Regions from separate parts of the Homo sapiens genome. Here region 2 is linked to region 1. Evidence: promoter capture Hi-C in 16 types of primary human blood cells and fetal thymus (Javierre and others, 2016). All regions are on one chromosome and are shown on one strand. Each heading gives the region's core, a stretch centred on a gene start or on the middle of the fragment in contact. The rest is flanking DNA. Distances are from core to core; before and after follow the strand shown. Region 1 holds the start of EPHB6 (EPH receptor B6). Region 2 has its middle 69 kb from the start of PRSS1.

Region 1 (7,016 bases), core at 3,327-5,826:
AAATACATTTTTTCAGAAAAAAAAAATTGTTGCTGAGTCAGACTAGGAAGTTAGGTGAGTTCTTACTTATCAAACAAACCAGATAAATTCAAGACTTTTAATTTTAATATATAAAAAGAATATGGGTGTACCCCTGTTGCAGGAATCCAAATAAAGAAAAAGGAAGCTTTATTAAGATATGGAATAAATTGCTGTCAGCAAATTCATACCACTGCAGATTCTTTTGAAGCCAATTTCAAAGGCAGAAACATAAGTGACAAGAACACGGCTGCTCCACATGCCTGGAATGCTAAGTAAGCAGGACTCAGAACTTGATTTTTCAAAGGTGTCTTCAATGGTTGTGGGCATGGAGCATCTTCTGCATTTGGTCCAGGAGAGCATCCCAGGGACAGGCCAGTACATTTCTCCTGCCACAGAGATGGGAAGCAGCCTCTGCAAAGCCAGGCCCCTTGCTCCTCTCTCACAGCCTGCTTGAGAGTCCTCTCTCCTCTGACTTACAAAAGGAACTGGTCAGTATTTAGAAATTCTCTAACACAAGAATGTGCAAAAGAACTTATCTCCTTTAGAAAAATATTCACATTTCAGATGTGTATAAGGTTTTAAAAATATAAAACCAGAAGCAGCAGAAATGTGAACATAAAACAATGGTGGAGAAAACGAGACGGATTAGACAAAGTTTTAGGTAACAAAAATTGCAGTCTATGACTTTATAATATGTTCTCAGCTTCTTTTATAGATATATCACTTAATATCTTTTTGATACAGTAGAGACAATAGATCCACAAGCCTGCTACATCTCTTTGGTTTACAAAAATAAGACTGTTTCTTAGGTATCAAGGTTGTGTTTTGTTTTCAGAAACTGGCAAAAAGTAAAGATTTGTAGAATCATAGGTTACAAAGCATAGCTTACGAGTTATGTTGCTATAAAAATGAAATATTTCACTTTGGGAGGCCAAGGTGGGCGGATCACAAGATCAGGAGATCGAGACCGTCCTGGCTAACACGGTGAAACCCCGTTTCTACTAAAAATACAAAAAAAAAAAAAAAAATTAGCTGGGCGTGGTGGCGTGTGCCTGTAGTCCCAGCTGCTGGGGAGGCTGAGGCAGGAGAATGGCGTGAACCCGGGAGGCAGAGCTTGCAGTGAGCCGAGATCGTGCCACTGCACTCCAGCCTCGGCGACAGAGCAAGATGCTGTCTCAAAAAAAAAAAAAAAAAAAAAAAAAAAAAAGAATGACTTAAAAGTAAATTAAATTGGTAAATTGGTAAGAATTTAAAAAATTAATCGTGCTCCAATTAAATGCTAAATATGATATTTTCATGAGCAAATCAAGCTTACTTAATATAGTTTATGCACCTCAATCCACAAAGTGAATTTTTAAAGATTAAATAATGTAAGCCAAATAAGCTTGGAGGAAGGTAGGCAGAAGACATATTAGGCCATTAAAATGGGTTACTGTGGGAGGTAGAAATGAAGGATTGTAGGTGGGGGCATTAATTTTGTCTTACACATAATTCAATTATTTTTCTTGTTACAGTAAGCATACCTTATTTTTATAATTAACGTAAAATCTCATAATTAAAATCTAAACAAAAAAGAAAAATATTTGTAAAACCTAGACAAATAAGCATACGTTTACATTTTATTCACTCCCCATGCCATTTTCCTTCTATGTTTCAAAATATCAAGAAATGTTCATCTATAAGAAGAAGGTAGAGGTGGAAATACAGTAGGAGCTGAGAATGAATGAGTGAAGTAATGCCAACAAGAAAACCAAAATAATTGTTATCTCTGGCTAGTCTTTAAGCTTGTCTCCCAAGAAGTTCCAACTGTCCCGCTGCTGACATCATGCATGCTTCTCTTCGACGATGTCAAGCAAAGGGATGAGGCTATGAAGGGACAGAGGGGAACCCAGGGGACTGTCCACTGGGAACACATAGTAAAGGGCATGGCCCCAAACCGAGCCCAGACAGGAACAATTTAGTGAGACAAAGCAGGCTGCAGAGTCCAGCAGGGACAGAACAGTCCCAAGGGCAAAGCGGTTCGAGGTTTTATGTCTGGTGTGGTTGCTGGGCTGGTCCTTACACCTGTGAGCCACACAGGTCAGTGTGGGAGGGGTCAGTACCACAGGCCCTGTCCCCTATCCTGTTCCACAGCTGTTAAACGCCCAGGAAATTCCAGTATAATCCTTGCTCAGTTTAATGCCAAAGCCTCTATCCTTTAATCTCCACCTTGGAGATCTCTTCGTGCTCTGGCCTCCTGCCTTGAGAAGGATCCCATCATCAGGCTTCATGGAGGCATCCAGGACAGACAGTGAGGAGGTGGCTGTCCTCCGGCTCTTCTAGTCCCTGCTTCCTTGGCTGGAGAAGCCAATTTGTAGATTACCTAGCAGAGGACAGTCCTGTGTCCCTGGAGGCCTCCAGCCCCTGAGAATGTCCCCCAGAGCACTGTGACTCAGACAAATGTGCCTCCCACTCCCAGGCTGTGGAGCTGGGGGAGGCTTTTAAGATGCAGGCAGTGTCTAGGTCTAGCCAGACAGCCACTTAGAATGAGCCACTCTGTGCACTGACCGGGGACATGCGTGGCTCTGGAAAAGAGCATAAGGGAGGGTGTTAAGGCAGGAGGCAAATGTGCCTGAGAGATGAGTAAGTGGAAGGTTGTGGAAGAAAGCCCCTGAGTGCCAGGAGTAGCACCTGCGTCAGCAGTGCCTGAGGATGTGTGTCTACCTGGTGGAGTGTGTAAGGGAATGTGTATGAGATGAGGTGGGCGGGAGCAGATGCTGTCTGTGTAGATGGGGGCTGTTGCTTTCCTGTGGCAGAAGATGCACATCAGTGCTGGTTCCGGAGTGGTTCCATGGGCCCTTCTTCCTCACCTTCGGCCCCTGCTCTACCCCCAGTCTGGCTGTGAGTTGCTCTTGGCCCCAGGAGGTACTTCTGCAGAAACACCTGGGCTGGGAGAGGGAGCCAAGTGGGGGGCGGGGAGGAGTGGGTAAAGAAAGGGAAACCTGAGGCTTCCCAAACCCTCCAGAACCTGCCATCCTCCTTCTACCTAGAGTGGGAACTCAGGGTCTAGGGCCCAGGCTCAGGACAGAGTGATAGCAGAACAGCCGTCCCAGAAGGAGGATCCTGCCTTTCCCATGCTCAGCCCACCCCAGCCTGTTGCTCCCCAGCATTCTGGTAACTCAGTGTCATTGCCAACCATCTTTTTGCACCCTGAATGGAGTAATAGACTCCAAACAAGTCCTCCTTCTGAGGCCACCAGGTAAGTACATAGACACCCCCACGCTAATCTTCCTTTGAGAAAAAAGGCCCACTGCTCTGAAAAGCCAAGTGGCCCCACTGAGCAGCACTCAGAAGCCTCAATGCTCCAATGCCCCTTACTTGGGCAGCTTCTGTGGTCTACTAACAGCCCCACACAGCTCCCTCCCACTGGTCTCTCAGCTCAGGACCAGCATCTCCCCTCCTAGAGCCTCAGTCAAGTTCCCCTGGCGGGCGGAGGGCCTGGGTTAACTGGGAACAGACCCAGCAGCTCCGCTCCATGGGCGCTGCCAGGGACATTACAACATTGCTATGCTGGGTCCATGCCAGCTCCCCCAGGGATGGGAGGAGAGAGGGTGCCAGACGGCCAAGATCGGTGGGTGGGGGTGTGGGGCAAGCAGGGCCAAGCACCCAGATGGAGGGAGCAGAGCGAGGGTGGAGCTGGGGCAGGAGCACGCAATAGAATTTGGTTGCACGTTGGGGGTGATGGCTGGGCAGCAGGAACCAAGCGTTCCTTCCACCTCCAAGGCTTAACTGTGGTCATGGAGCTGGGGGGGACAGTGCCTTGTGGGGAGCAGGGGACAGGTGTGTGGTCAGCCTCCTGACTCCTCCCAGCTCCAAGGGGATTGGAGTGATGCCACTGGAGTCAGAGGGGTGGCAATCCTGTTCCAAGCGTGGAGCTCCGTCTCTGCGAGGACCCTCCCAGATTAGGACTCCCAAGCCAGAGCCAGAGGAGAATGTCTGGGAACGCAACTGGGGGATCCTAACAGCAAGGGTAATGCGGTGTCAATGATGCCAGGTCAGAGTGGAGTGAGAGGGGAGTAGCCAGGTTGACCGTTTCCTCACCCTTCATGAACCCCACTCTGGCCTTGAGGAAGGATCCTCAGTACTCCCTCAGGAAGCCACCTAGGGGCTGAGGAGCCCCACTACTCTTGCAAACCTTAATTCCTCTGTCCCCAAGCATACTGTCCCCGACCCCCACAACGCCGCCTGCTAACCCCGCGGGCTCACCTTCCCGTTGGCCGCAGTCTCTGCAGGTCTGCGCCCCCCGAGGCCTCGCAGTGGACCCGGGGCTCCTGGAGCTCGCACGGTGCCACCCGCGTCTTCTCCAGTCCGGGGACCCCGTTGCACCCGGCCCGGGTCCGTTCGGCGCCGAGAGTCCCTGGGATTCCGGGGTGGACCTGACGCTGGCGGCAGGGGCTGCTCCAGAGGTGGGGCGCCGGGAGATCCTGGGGGCCCGCGTCGAGATCGCCGTCGCCAAGCTGGGTCCCGGGTCCCGCCGCCCGCTGCTGTAGAGCCGCGGCTGGAGCGAACGCAGCCCGGCCCGCCCCCTCCGCGTCCCCTCCCAAGCCGGCCCGGCCCGCCCCTTCAGCCCCTTTGGCCGCCTTCCCACTCCCTTCTTCCGGGGAGCCGAGCCCGCCCTCCCGGCCTAGGCGGTGAGTGCGCGGCGCCCGCTCCTCCGCCCCGGCGCGCGGGGGAGACGCGGGGCGCGCCCGGGGCCCCGCCTGTGCGCCGGGAAGGGGGCGGCCTCCTCCCGCGGGTCTTGGCCGGGAGGATCGCACGCGTGGGGCGCCTGCAGGAAGTGGGAAGGGAAGAGGCTGTCTGTAAAGCCCCTGCCTGGGCTCGGGCTCGGGCTCGGCTTGGGTCGGACACCCGCGGAGCGAAGCGCAACTGGCGGACCGTGGCAGTTCAGGGCAGGGCAGAGCCCTGCACACACCCCCTCGCGCCTCCCTCCTCTTCGGCTTTAACTCTAGGAACTAAAACAGTGGGGCTCCTACTCAGCTTGGAACTAAGGTGGGCGTGAGCTGAGCAAGAGAGAAGGAAGGAAAAGCAGGGGGTGGAGGGAAAGACAAACTGAGAAATCTGGGAGAGTACGGGCGGTGGTAGGGGGAGCCGAGGCAGCGGGAGAGGGGGGCGTCTCGGTATGAAAGCGTCGCCGTGCTAGCCGGGAACTCTTTTCTCTTTTCGTGTCTGGATCTTGGTCAACGTTGGGGCTTCTGAGTCGAACCTCCCTCCATCTACCCTCCCCAAGGGGCAGGGCAGTCGGGTTGAAAAGGGGAAGCGCTGCTGTACGCCTGGCTCTGACATGGCTTGGGCAAGTCGCTGCACCTCTGGGTGCCTCCTCCCTCGCCCGCGCTCCGGAGAGAACCTCCCTGCAGTGAGGAGGGGCGGTGCAAGGTGCTCTCAGCTGGCGCCTGGAGGCAGGGTTGAGGAACCGAGGGGGCGCCGCGAGGAAAAGTGTTTCCGCCCACCTCTAACCCCTTCTCTAGCCGAGGACGGGGATTTGGGGTCTATTGTTTGGGTCCTACAGAGCTGGGCTGGGGCCTTGCCACGAAGTGTTGCTACCACCTGCTGGTTTTTCTAGGGAGCACAAGCACCCGGTGCGATTCCCTTTGCCCCCTTTTCTCCCTGTATCGCCCTGTCCCATCTTGCTCTCCTGTTTATTAAAGCAAATGGGCTGATCAAAACTGGTACTTAAAGAGCATTCAGAAGCCGAAGAAAATTGTGAAAGAGATCTATGAGCCAACAAACACAATAAACAAAACAATGAAACTCAGTAAGAGTCACCTGGGAGAGACAAACAGGCTTTAATGAATTGACTGAATGAGTGATAGAAAGATAAAGGCTACCGAGCAAGTTCCCACTTGGCCAGGGGTTTGTTCACTCTTAATATCAGGAGTCAATAAATAAGTCTGATAGTATTTAATGACTGCATTTGGACGTCATTAATAATTCCACTTGTACTGACGGTTCTACTTTATCTTGTTTCTTCCCTTTGCCCTGAAACTCAGTGGTGGAGGGCTTCCTTCATTTTCTGGTTATCTCCAAGGCTTTCAAAGACTTCTGCAAAGAAACAGAATTTGCATTGTGTGTGGAATTACGTAACTCATACATTAACATGCCTGATTGCTAGACATCTATGGTTATATTGAAAACTTAAAAAAAAGACACATAACTAGATTATGTTAAAATAAAAATATGGACAAAACCAAACCGTAGTTGTTACTTTATAAAACCCAGAAATTCCTGTAGTAATTTGCAACGTATCCTGTATTGACATAACAGTAAAAATATCTGCCTTCTTTTCTATTTCATGATATACCTCATATTAGGTGACTATAATATGAAATGAAGTTTTTGCTGCTCAAGGCTTGTGTAATTAGTTATATTTGTCTTGTTAATAAAATTTGAGAGGCATCTAGTTTTCAAAGGAAGTGTCATACTCAGGATGCAAAGAGGTTTAAATTTGTGATTAGTCGGCTTTGCATCCTAATTGCCTATGTCTTATCAAACCAAGTTTTAATGGTAGGTGGAGAGCATAGAATGCATTGTTAAAGTATGCTGCAACCTGCAGCTATTAAAAAGCAAAGTAATGAATTCCTTTTTAAAGTTTAATGTAAATTTTTTGCTATAATTTGTTTGGTGCCTGGGACACTCCAGGTGCTTAGAAGTGTTATAGAATGAATCAATAAAAAATAATATTTAAACTTTTTCTATGTGGATGGGCACAGTGGCTTATGCCTGTAATCCCAGCACTTTGGGAGGCTGAGGTGAGAGGATCACTTGAGGTCAGGAGTTTGAGATCAGCCTGGCCAACATGGTGAAACCTCATCTCTACCAAACAATACAAAAATTAGCCAGGCATGGTGATGCATGCCTATAGTCCCAGACACTCAGGAGGCCAAGGTGGGAGAATCGCTTGAACCCGGGAGGCGGAGGTTGCAGTGAGCCAAGATTGTCCTACTGCACTCCAGCCTGGG
Region 2 (6,858 bases), core at 2,030-4,529, 170 kb after region 1:
TGCAAAATCCTTTCAGCAATGTGAGAGAACATATTCAAGATTTTCAAGGATTCAGATCTGAATATTTTGGGAGATTATTATTCAGTCTACCACAATGTGAAAATCTCTAAATAACTGCAGCAATACTTCTGAGAGAGAAATGTTTAGATGACTGAGATCATATCTTAGCTAGGGAAGCAAGAACTGATAAAACCCTGGTTTGTTCAATAAATATTTAAAGAGCAACTACTTTATTCAAAGCCTGTAATACTGTTGAAGATACAAAAATTAAAACCTTGGACATGGTCCTTGGCCTCATTGAGCATATTTTGTATTAATAATTTTAAAAACTATCATAATAAGTTAAACAATGAAATGTGTGATACTCTATGATTGTAGAAGCTCTGGGTACCATGGGGTATTTACCACGCATAGTCAGAGACTCAGCCATGATGATTATGCCATTTAAACATGAAGGATTAGGAGTACAGATAAATAGGGAGAGAAAGATTATTCTAGCTAGTGTGAACAGCATGTGTAAAGGCTCAGGAGTGAGTGAGAAAGTACATATGGAGCTTTGGGAGAGCTGAGGGATTATGAATATTATTAGAGCATAAGTATGCAAAAAGTGGGTAAAGAGTAGGTGAATTTCACAAGACTGGATAGGTATGCAAGGGCCAAATTATGGAGGGTTTTAAGAATTTGTAGTTTGGAAGTTTTTTTTTTTTTTTTTACGAAAAAACTTATAGGCTAACATTTAGATATAAAGAAGACTGGTCATAACCCTAAAGTCAATGGAAAGGAAGTGTTTTCAGCTGCAGAGAATGAACTGAGTTAGAAAAGAGAGTAAGACATCAGGTAGGTGGATATTTGGTAGGAGTTGAAGTAATTCAGGTCAAAGAAGTAATTCAGATCGAAGACAGTGGTTGCCTGAGCTAAGGCAGTATTCGTTGGGATAGAAAATAGTGGTTGAATTTGAGAGGTTTTAATAAACAGAAATGTTAAAGATGTGTTTATGGACCAATGTGGAAGAAGAATGTGACAGAAGAGGTGAAGATATTCTGGGGACTCTAGCTAAAGCAATTGAGTGAATGCTTGTACCACTTAGGGATCCCAGTGACACAGAAGATGCATGTCACAACATACCTTAGGGTGGGTTATTGTCTCAAGAAGCTAGAGAGCCAGGACTGGGACAAGGATGAGGAAAGGCATTGCAATGAATGTGTTTGGGACCTGAAGAGGGGATATCTTGTCTGAGGAGCAATAAACCTGAAAGGGCAGAGTAAGGATCTTAATACATATAATTTAATCTCAGAAATAGAAAATGAGACTATTTGAACTGGCCATAGACTTAGGAACATTTTCTCGACTTCTGTACTCACTAGTAGAGCACAAGGAGGTATAGGAAATATTGCCTTTTGAAGTCTGATGCAAGGTTGCTGCTCAGGTCAGACTTCCTACCCAAAAAAAAAAATCTCATGTAAAAGGTTCTGGAAAGTTCTATTCTCTCCTCCTCTGAAAGAAGTTCTTTCTCAGAATAGGGTGGAGCCTCTTGTGGGTGGGCACTCCTCCCTTTGAGACTGCCATTTTGTGAGGTGAGCACATGCCTGTGCAGTGCTGTGGAGTGACGGTACAAGGACACAGGGACATCTGAAAGGGAGTTGCAGATTTCAGAGCCAAAGAGAACTTCTATTTTTTGCCAGGAAATATTTTCAATAGGGATATGTCTCTAATCAACAATGTCAATGTTAACTGAATAATGAGTCGGCTCTAATTCCAACCCTGATTCTTGTGAAAACCAGTATGAAATCTTGGCACTTATCTTGAGAACTCCTTTCCTGTCTCTGCAATCAGGTGTCTTAGAGTCTAGGTGGCTTCAGCTTCTACGAGCTGGGGTTTATGAGCTGAGGGGACAGAAGACAGAAAGAGAGCCAAGGAGAGAGCCTGGTGCTGCAGACTCCAGGAAGGAACCTGGGCTGTGGGCAGGCAAGCTCAGAATAAGAATTTCCCAAATGTTTCCAAGACTCACTGCCCCCAGGAAACAAAAGTACATGCAAGGGAGGAATAACCAGCTATGGTGGAATGAAGAGGTCAGCAAAGTTCCCCATAAAATAAGTATAAAACTCAAACAATTCTCATCAAAAGGCAGGAATTTTCTTTTTTCCTTAGGAGTAAAAGCTATTTGTTTCTGTACCAAGAGTAAGGCACACATGTTTTCATGGCTGTGGGCTATGAATAGTAATTTGAATTATATTTTATGCAAACACTTGTTTAATGCACATTTCAGTATAAGCCAAAATTACTATAATTTTGTTACTACAAAAATTTTTATATTATACTGCTATATAAGCTTAGTTGAAAGCTATCTCATTTCTTTATTATTTATTTAAAATTGACAAATAGAAATTATATATATTTATTGTATACAATGTGATATTGTGACATTTTAATATATGTATACATTGTGGAATAATTAAATCAAGCTAACATATGCATAATCTCACATACTTATTTTGTTTTGACTTTTTTTTGGTAGGAACATTTAAAATCTACATTCTTAGCAATTTTCAAGAGTACATATATTATTAACTATAGTAATCATGCTGCATATTAGGTCTCTAGAACTTCTTTCTGTCTGATTAAAACATGTACCTTTTGACCAACATTTCCCTATTTCCTATGCCTCCCTTCCTGAAACCCCATCCCAGTGCTTGGCAATTACCCTTCTACTCTCTGCTTCTGTGGGTTTGACTTTGTTGGATTCCATGAATAAGTGAGACCATGCATTATTTGTTTTTCTGTGCCTGAATTATTTCACTTAGCATAATGTCTCCAGGTCCAAACATGTTGTTGCAAATTATATGATTGCCTTTTTCTGTAGGGTTGAGTATTATTCCATTGTGTGTGTGTGTGTATGTGTGTATGTATACACATATACGTATAAATAATATATATATTTATATATACATATACAGAATTTATATCATATATTCTTCATCTAGTCATCCCTTGGTGGAAACCTAGGTTAATTCTGTATTTTGGCTATGTGAATAATGCTTCAAGGAACACAAGAGTACATATATTTATTCAACATACAGATTTCATATCCTTTGGATTTATATCTAGAACTGGAATTGCTAGATTATATGATAGTTCTATTTTTAATTTTCTGAGGAACCTCCATACTGTTTGTCAAAATGGCTGTACTAATTTACATTCTGTATTAGGTCAGGGTTCTCTAAAGGGGCAGAACTAATAGGATAGATGAAGAGGAGTTTATTAAAGGGTATTTACTCATACAAACACGAGGTAAAGTCCCATAATAGGTCTTCTGCCATCCGAGGAGCCAGGAAGCCAGTCTGAGTCCCAAAACATCAAAAGTAGGGAAGTTGAGAGTGTAGTCTTCAGTCTGTGGCCGAAGGCCCAAGAGCCCCTGGCAAATCACTAGTTTAAGTCCAAGAGTCTAAAAACTGAAGAACTTGGAATCCGATGTTTGAGAGCAGGAAGCATCCAGCATGGGAGAAAGATGAAAGCCAGAAGATTTAGACAGTCTAGTCCTTCCACATTCTTCTGTCTGCTTTTATTCTAGCCATGCTGGCAGCTGATTAGATTGTACCCACCCATATTGAGGGTGGTCTGCCTTTCCCAGTCCACTGATTCAAATGTTAATCTCCTTTGGCAACACCATCACAGACACACCCAGGAACAATACTTTGCATCCTTAATCCAACCAAGTTGACACTCAATATTAACCATCACACATTTCTGCCAACAATGTACATGATTCCCTTTTCTGCACATCCTTATCAATGCTTGTTATCTTTTGTCTTTGTAGTGTTAGCCAGTGTATCAGTTGTGAAGTGATATCTCATTGTGGCTTTAATTTATATTTCTCTGATAATTAGCAATGATAAACATTTATTCATTTGTATGCTTTCTCTTGAGAAATGTCTATTCAGGTCATTTGGCCATATGTTAATTGGGTTGTTTTCTTGCTAATGAGTGTGAATTTCTTATATATTTTGGATATTAATCCTTTTTCAGACATGTGGTTTGCAAATATTTTCTCCCATTTTGTAGCTTGCCTTTTTATTCTGTTGATTATTTCCTTTCCTTTCCTTTCCTTTCCTTTCCTGTGCAGAAACTTTTTAGTTTGATGTAATCCCACTTGTCTAATTTGGTTTTTGTTGCCTATGCTTTTGCAGTAATATCTAAAAATTGTTTACCAAGACCAGTATTAAGAAGCTTTTCCCCTATGTTTTCTAATAGTATTTTAAAAATTTCAGGTCTTATGCTTATGTCTTTAATTTATTTTGAGTTGATTTTATGTTGTAAAATAGAAAGACCAAAATCCAACTATTTTCTGACTATGGGAAATCACTTTAGTTTTAAAGACACAAATATATTGAAAGTAAAGTATGGAAAAGCATATGTCATATTAGTAACCATAAAAGCTTGAGTGGCTATATTAATATCAGAGAAATAAATTTTAAAGCAAAAAATATTATTACAGAAAAACACTTCATAATGATTAAAGTTTCAACCTATATATGTATATCAAATGATATAAAAAATATACAAAATATATATTCCTTCTATGTGTGTTTGTGCATATGTATTTTTTATATTTATTCACACATATATTTATCCTTTAAGGTGCTTTTAATTTCTTACTATGGATTTTAGTTGCTAACAATGTCATTTTCTCTCAGCTGGATGACTTCCTTTAATATTTCTTGTAAGACAGGTCTGCTAACCACACAATTCTGTAGCCTTTGTTTATCTGGGAATGTCTTTATTTCATTTTCATTTACAGAGGATAGTTTTGCTGGATATAGAATTTTTGGTGGAATTTTTTTCTTTCAGTGCCTCTCCATTATCTTCTGATCTCCATTGTTTCTGATTTAAAGTCAGAAACAATGACTTCTGATTTAAAGTCAGATTAATTGTATTGCTCTTCTCTTTCAAATGATGAGTCATTTTTCTCTTGTTGAAAAAATATATTGATTTCAATACATTATTTGTGGATTTTGGCTTTCTGAAGTTTAACTATAATGTAGCTAGACATAGATATCTTTGTGTTTACTGTGTTTGAGAGATGTTAAGCTTCTAGATTCTTTCGATTAATGTTTTTCAACAAATTTGAGAAGTTTGTGGCCATTATTTTTTCTTTGTCTTTCTCTCACTTCTCTCTTTCTAAGACTCCAATTTTACATATATGGGTATGCTTGATGGTACTCACAAATCTCTAAGTTTAGTTACTTTTAGTATAGAAAGCATTTGCCTGTACAGCATTGTGGAGTAACTCCTGGGGCCTAACAACAGAGTCCCAAAGTACATAAAGTAAAAATGACAGAAATGAAACAAAAATAAACATACCAAAATTATAGTTGGTGACTTAAATCCTCCAGTCTGAAAAATTGACCACACCAACTAGACAGAAAGTAAATAAGGGTAAAAAGACCTGAAAAACACTACTAAACTATTTGACTTAATTGATGATTTTAGAACACACTATTCAGCAACAGCAGAATGTACACTTTTTCAAGTGCTCATAGAGTATTTCCCCATATAGATTATATGTTATATAATAACATACAGATAGGAGGATTAAAATAATTCAAAGTATATTCTCTCATCACAGAGGGATTTAATTAGAAATAAACAACAGAAAGAAGCTGGAAAAATCACAAATATTTGGAAATTAAACATCACACTCCTAAATAACTCATGGGCTTCAAAAGGAATTTCTAGAAAAATTATGCTTTTAACTAAAAAACTAAAAATATATCAATGTACATGGAATGCAGCCATGATTAGAGGGAAATGTATAACTTTAAATAACTGCATTAGGAAAACAACTACAAAAGTTTCCATCATAATCTAAACTTCTACCTGAAGACACTGGAAAAATAAGAGAAAAGTCAACCAAAAGTAAACATAAGGAAGAAATAACAAAGATCAAATTAGGCCGGGCGCAGTGGCTTGTGCCTGTAATCCCAGCACTTTGGGAGGCTGAGGCAGGCGGATCACGAGGTCAGGAGATAGAGACCATCCTGGCTAACACGGTGAAACCCCGTCTCTACTAAAAAAGAAAAAATACAAAAAATTAGCTGGGCGTGGTGGCGGGTGCCTGTAGTCCCAGCTACTCAGGAGGCTGAGGCAAGAGAATGGCGTGAACCTGGGAGACGGAGCTTGCAGTGTGCCGAGATAGCACCACTGCACTCCAGCTTGGGCGAAAGAGTAAGACTCCATCTCAAAAAAAAAAAAAAAAAAAAAAAGATCAAATTAAAAATCAATTCAATAGATAATAGAAAAATAATAGAGAAAATCAATGGAACTACAACTGTTTACTTGAAATGCTATAAAATTGATAACACTTTAGTCAGACTGAACAAGATAAAAAGCAAGAAAATAGAAATTGCAAAGTCAGGAGTGAAAATGAAGAATACAATTACTAACCCTATAGAAATATATGGAAATGTTATGAACAACACTATGTCAATGAATTTGACAACTTGGGTGAAGCAGACATATTCCTAGAAAGACATAAGAGTAACTCAAGAAAAAAAGCCACATGTCTGGATAGACATATTACAAGTAAAGAAGTATTTTAGTAAATAACACCATATAGAGCAGAGGTCAGCAAAATTTTTCAGTAAGGAGCTAGATAGTAAATATTTTGGGCCATATGCAACCTCTGTCAGTTCTTTTTCTCCTATTCCTCCTCTTCCGTCTTCTAACACTTTAAAAGTATAAAATTTATTCTTAGTTTATGAGTAATACAAATATAGGCCATAGCTTGACTTTAACATGTGAGCAATAGTTTGTCACTCCATGTCACAGAGACAAGCTCAGGACTAGCTGACTTTACTGGTA

What was found. Contacts are between HindIII fragments. The CHiCAGO score rates a contact against its expected background, and 5 or more counts as called.
Region 2: a contact is called between a fragment that was not itself captured here and the fragment with the promoter of EPHB6 in region 1, in 2 of 17 cell types (total B cells and naive B cells). The highest score is 6.2, in total B cells.

Annotation. Positions count from the first base shown.
Region 1 is chr7:142,852,636-142,859,651 of GRCh38, reverse strand. It overlaps EPHB6 (EPH receptor B6), which reads right to left and starts at 4,576. Exons shown (of 20, transcript NM_004445.6): 1 at 4,267-4,576. The HindIII fragment of the contact is 5,828 bases long and covers 1,808-7,016 here.
Region 2 is chr7:142,676,613-142,683,470 of GRCh38, reverse strand. It overlaps TRB and the pseudogene TRBVA. Among named protein-coding and RNA genes, the nearest start is that of PRSS1, 69 kb to the left of the region's middle. The HindIII fragment of the contact is 1,895 bases long and covers 2,332-4,226 here.